Regions from separate parts of the Homo sapiens genome. Here region 1 is linked to region 2. Evidence: promoter capture Hi-C in 16 types of primary human blood cells and fetal thymus (Javierre and others, 2016). All regions are on one chromosome and are shown on one strand. The core of a region is centred on a gene start or on the middle of the fragment in contact, and the rest is flanking DNA. Distances in the headings are between cores, read along the strand shown.

Region 1 (2,858 bases), core at 321-2,820, 160 kb before region 2:
AAAAATCATTTAGGAGATTGAGAGATCCAAGGATGGAGTGAAGAATGGAATAAAAGAATCTACCTGTATTACAAACATATGAAATAACTTCACTGAAGAAGAGTAGTGGGGAGAATGGTGCTGACCTAAGTCGACTGGAAATGTGTAGAGTCTGTAAGACTAAAGGTAAAATGAACTGTACACAAGTACTGTACTCTTGTGGATACAGCTGTTTCCTTGAGGAAATAGGTTAACAATTGTTGAGATCACTCCACGTGTATCCTGGATTTGAACAATTAAGTTCCAGTGGTGCATGGTGGGAGGTAGATTTTTTTTTTTTTTTTTTTTTTTTTTGAGACGGAGTCTTGCTCTGTCACCCAGGCTGGAGTGCAGTGATGAGGTCTCAGCTCATTGCAACCTCCACCTCCTGGTTTCAAGTGATTCTCCTGCCTCAGCCTCCCGAATAGCTGGGACTACAGGCACCCGCCACCATGCCTGGCTAATTTTTTGTATTTTTAGTAGAGACGGGGTTTCACCATGTTAGCCAGGATGGTCTCGATCTCCTGACCTCAAGTGATCTGCTCTCCTTGGCCTCTCAAAGTGCTGTGATTACAGGCATGAGCCACTGTGCCTAGCCAAGAGGCAGGTTTTTGCTGTTAGAATGAGAGCATAGGCTGGGCGCAGTGGTTCACGCCTCTAATCCCAGCCTTTCGGAGGCTGAGGTGGGCGGATCACGAGGTCAGGAGATCGAGACCATCCTGGCTAACACGGTGAAACCCCCGTCTCTACTAAAAATACAAAAAATTAGCCAGGCATGGTGGCGGGCGCCTGTAGTCCCAGCTACTCAGGAGACTGAGGCAGGAGAATGGCATGAATCCGGAAGGCAGAGCTTGCAGTGAGCCAAGATCGTCTCACTGCACTCCAGCCTGGGTGGCAGAGCAAGACTCCATCTCAAAAAAAAAAAAAAAAAAAAGAAGAATGAGAACATATAGGTGAGCAAGGGGGAAAGGTCAGAATGATCCATGCAGTAATGGATTGGAGTTGGAGTCATCAGTATGAATCCATGTGTAGCTTACTGTAGATATAGATAGCCACATGTAAAAATATTTATAGGTATGTATTCATATACATAACACCATAATTATTTATGTGGTATACTTCAAAATACCAATAGAGTCAAGAAGCTGTTGTAATTAGTAAGAGAATTCACCAAGGTAGCCAGATAGAAGATCTACAAAAATCAATAGCGTATCTATTTTTTTTTTTTTGAGATGGAGTCTTGCTCTCTTGCCCAGGCTGGAGTGCAGTGGTCTGATCTTGGCTTACTGCAACCTCTGCCTCCTGGGTTCAAGCAATTCTCCTGTCTCAGTCTCCCAAATAGCTGGGATTATAGACGCCTGCCAGCAGACCTTGCTAATTTTTGTATTTTTAGTAGAGACAGAGTTTCACGATGTTAGTCAGGCTGGTCTTGGACTCCTGGCCTCAAGTAATCCACCCGCCTTGGTCTTCCAAAGTGCTGGGATTACAGGTGTGAGCCACTGCGCCCGGCCTCAATAGCATATCTCTATACCAGGTGTAACCAACTAGAAAATGACAATCAAAGAAGCCATTCACAATAATGACAAAAACTATAAAGTATCTAGGAACTTAATTAATATAAGACCTCTATAGCCAGGCGTGGTGGCTCATGTCTGTAATCCCAGCACTTCGGGAGGCCAAGGCGGGTGGATCACCTGAGGTTAGGAGTTCGAAACCAGCCTGACCAATATGGTGAAACCCCATCTGTACTGAAAACTACAAAAACTAGTCAGGTGTGCTGGTGGTGCCTGTAATCCCAGCTACTTGGGAGGCTGAGAATTGCTTGAACCCGGGAGGCGGAGGCTGCAGTGAGCCGAGATCACACCGCTGCACTCCAGCCTGGGCAACAGAGCCAAGACTCCATCTCAAGCAAAACAAAACACAGCAAACTCTGAAGAAAACATTAAAACTCAAAGTCCAATAGAAGTGTTATGGGGGAAAAAAACTCAAAGGGCACAGAAGATGATCCAAATAAAATAGAGAGATATTTCATTATCTTGGACAGAATGGCTTAATAACAAATGATATTAGTGTTCTCCCCAGTTAATGTGTGTATTCAATGCAATTCCACTTAAAATCCATGGGAATTTTCTGAAAAACTTAAACTTACTTTAGTATTTATTTGCAGAAGTTCATTTTCAAAATTAGCAAAGTCAATATATAAAAAGAAGAGTAAAGAGTGGGGCTTGGGCAGGGTGTAGTGGCTCACACCTGTAATCCCAGCACTTTGGGAGGCCGAGGTGGGTGGATCACCTGAGGTCAGGAGTTCAAGACCAGCCTGGCCAACATGGTGAAACCCCATCTATACTAAAAATACAAAAAATTAGCCGAGCGTGGTGGCACAGGCAGCATGTGCCTGTAGTCCCAGCTACTCAGAAGGCTGAGGCAGGAGGATCACTTGAATCTGGGAGGCAGAGGTTGCAGTGAGCCCAGATTGTGCCACTGCGCTGCAGCCTGGGCAACAGAGTAAGACTCCAACTCCAAAAAAAAAAAAAAAAAAAAAAAAAGAATGAGGCTTGCTCTACCAGATATCAAGACATACTACAAGACTAAAGACTACAGTAATCAGTCCGTGCGCAGTGACTCAGACCTGTAATCCCAGCATTTTGGGATGCCAAGGTGGGCGGATTGCTTGAGGTCAGGGGTTCAAGACCAGCCTAGCTAACATAGTGAAACCCCATCTCTACTAAAAAATGCAAAAAAATTTAGCCGAGTTTGGTGGCGCTTACCTGTATCCCAGCTACTCAGGAGGCTGAGGCAGGAGAATTGCTTGAACCTGGGAGGCAGAGGTTGCTGTGAGC
Region 2 (2,981 bases), core at 118-2,617:
TGTACCCATCACAAGACTCTTGGCTCACCTAGCAGTAGAACTGCCCAAAACTTGTGGTCCAAGTCACCTAAAAATCGATGCTAATGTATTTCTCTCTCTAACTCTTAGGATCTTAAGTCTACTGAAGGCAAGAACTGATTTATCAAGAGGATAAGAGACATTTTACACAACTGCACTCACCAGGTAGATATGAGAAACACGGTAGGTATCTGACTGGGTGCTTACCTTGGTGCTATGCATTTATTTTGCTCTTCTCAGATTTAGTGACCTCAGTTGTCTCGTGGGTTATTTCTAGCATCGGGATCATGAGGTGACATCACTGAGCATACAGCATTTGTTCAGTCACAAAGTGAGGCCGGTGTGCCGGGCGCGGTGACTCACGCCTGTAATCCCAGCACTTTGGGAGGCCGAGGTGGGCGGATCACAAGGTCGAGAGATCGAGACCATCCTGGCCGACATGGTGAAACCCCATCTCTACTAAAAATACAAAAATTAGCTGGGCATAGTGGCGCTCGCCTGTAATCCCAACTACTCAGGAAGCTGAGGCAGGAGAATCGCTCAAACCCGAGAGGCGGAGGTTGCAGTGAGCCAAGATCGTGCCACTGCACTCCAGCCTGGGCGACAGAGCGACACTTCATGTCAAAAAACAAACAACAACAACAACAAAACCACAAAGTGAGGCCGGTGCAGATATTGTCTCTCGGCCATGGCCAGGGAGTCATCTGGGTAGTACCTGAGTGGCATCTTTGCTCCATCGCCATCATTATATGGTCCTTTTCTCTGCCTCCTTCTCTCTATCTCCATCTCTTTCCATAATATTTAAGGTATGTGTCCAGATTGGGAACAAATATTACCTCATGGAAGCAAAATATCTGCTCATTTCCACCTCAGATTGTCCCCTCCCTCAGGGCATGTTTAAAATCAGTGGCTACTCTTCTCATAGATATCATGTCAGGAGAAACAGAGACAAGGAGAGGGGGAAGAAGGGTGTGGTAGTGGAGCATCAGAAGTCAGTGAAAAGGTGGAATTGGAGAAGTGGTGAAATGAGACAGTTTGATAGATCCCTGTGCAGGCAGGAACAGAGAAAGTCTGTGTGCACTCATCAGTGAACTGTCTTTCTATCTGTCACCAAAAGGAAATCAGGACACAGACATTATGGAAGAAATATTTAACACATTAATTCTGAATGCCCTCCAAGTGCTAGAGGTGAGTCCAGGTGTCCCTCGGAACCACACTCTGGTCTTCCCTGTTCTCGTCCCATCTTACCTTGAAGCAGAAGACTGACAGTGAGGCAGAGGAGGGCACTCTGCCTTGCAGGCCACCCTCCTTCCATTCTTCTTTCTGGACTCTTCTCTGGGGATTCACCAGGAGCTCCCAAACCCTGGAGCTTAAAGGAGCTCAGACCACACCCTGGTTGCTGGTTTTGAATACTACTCATGGCAAGTGACCACTCCCTGTGACAGCCTGTGACCAGAGAGGTCCCAGCCAAGTGTCCTGCATTGGCTCTGCCCAGATGCACCTTCCGGGCTCCAGGCAGGCAGGAAATTGGGCGGACACTAGGGGAAAAGCATTCTATTTGGCAGCTGTGTGCTGAGATCCAAAACAAAATAACGTGCCTTAATGAGAGAATGTAGGCTGGGGAAATTAGGATTGTGTGCTTCCAAGACCAGGGAATCTGTGTGCACCAAGACCAGGTGCAATACTTAGTGATTTGGTTATGAATACCAAAGTATCTTTTTTTTTTTTTTTGAGACAGAGTCTCTCTCTGTCACCCAGGCTGGAGTGCAGTGGCACGATCTTGGCTCACTGCAACCTCCACCTGCCTGGTTCAAGCGATTCTCCTGCCTGCCTCAGCCTCCTGAGTAGCTGGGACTACAGGTGTGTGCCACCACACCCGCCTAATTTTTTGTATTTTTAGTAGAGACGGGGTTTCGCTGTGATAGCCAGGATGGTTTCGATTTCCTGACCTCGTGATCCACCCACCTCAGCCTCCCAAAACGCTGGGATTACAGGCGTGAGCCACCGCGCCCGGCCCCCTTACCAAAGTATCTTACAGCTTTTGTTGACATTGGAATTATTCCAAATGCCAAATTATAAAGCTTGGTTCATACCTTCATCATCTAGTGTCTATGCTTTTCCAGTAGCCCCTAACTAGATTTCCTCTTTACAGCGTCTCTGCCTTTCTGATTTATTCTCTCCAAACCAATGTTCTCCGTATAATTTTTAGGCTATGCACTGATTACATGATAATAGAACTCATAAAATTAAGATAGTAACACTTTGTGCTGTCAATAGTGTTAATATATAGCATTATTGTAAACTAGTAATCTCAGCTAACATCAATATCATTGGCATGTGTTAATATTATGTCTTATGTCACCACATTCCTATTAAAAAAAATTGGCTCAAATGAATGAATTGGAGCATTTTTATTTCAAGTATCTTAGCTACGTTTCCAGAAAGACTTGGACAGTTTTTCCTTGCAGAAAGGGTGAAGGGCCAGATGTAGAATACAAAAAAAACTTTGTTCAGAATTAGTGATCATGACAGCCCTAAGTAGAAAGTGCTGAGAAATGCAGGAATGACTTAGAGGCCCAAAGTAGGAAGGCACAGGAGAGGGCTGCAGTGGATTCCATTTGAGGTTTGCGGTAGCTGCAGTCCTTCAGACCTACCACCTCTGCAAGTAATTTCTTCCCTGACTTGGAAACTTGGCCAACTTGAGCCAGAGGTTGAAGGGAAAGAAAGAATCAAAGAGGGGAGAAAGAGAGGCAGAAAGGTGGCTAGAAGTACTGGAGTGGAAGGAGTGAGAAAGGGAGGAATAGAAGGGAACAGAGGAATTGCTAGAAAACCTGCTCCAGGCCAGGCACGGTGGCTCATGCCTGTAATCCCAACATTTTGGGAGGCCGAGGCAGGAAGACCGCTTGAGCCCAGGAGTTTGAGACCAGCCTAGGCAACACAGTGAGACCCCATCTCTACAAAAG

The links. Contacts are between HindIII fragments. The CHiCAGO score rates a contact against its expected background, and 5 or more counts as called.
Region 1: a contact is called between a fragment that was not itself captured here and the fragment with the promoter of HTR3C in region 2, in 1 of 17 cell types (M1 macrophages). The highest score is 7.1, in M1 macrophages.

The regions. Positions count from the first base shown.
Region 1 is chr3:184,212,102-184,214,959 of GRCh38, reverse strand. No RefSeq gene overlaps it. Among named protein-coding and RNA genes, the nearest start is that of VWA5B2, 16 kb to the left of the region's middle. The HindIII fragment of the contact is 3,345 bases long and covers 1-2,858 here.
Region 2 is chr3:184,051,433-184,054,413 of GRCh38, reverse strand. It overlaps HTR3C (5-hydroxytryptamine receptor 3C), which reads right to left and starts at 1,367. Exons shown (of 9, transcript NM_130770.3): 1 at 1,267-1,367. The coding sequence starts at 1,333. RefSeq lists an enhancer at 1-812. The HindIII fragment of the contact is 4,846 bases long and covers 1-2,101 here.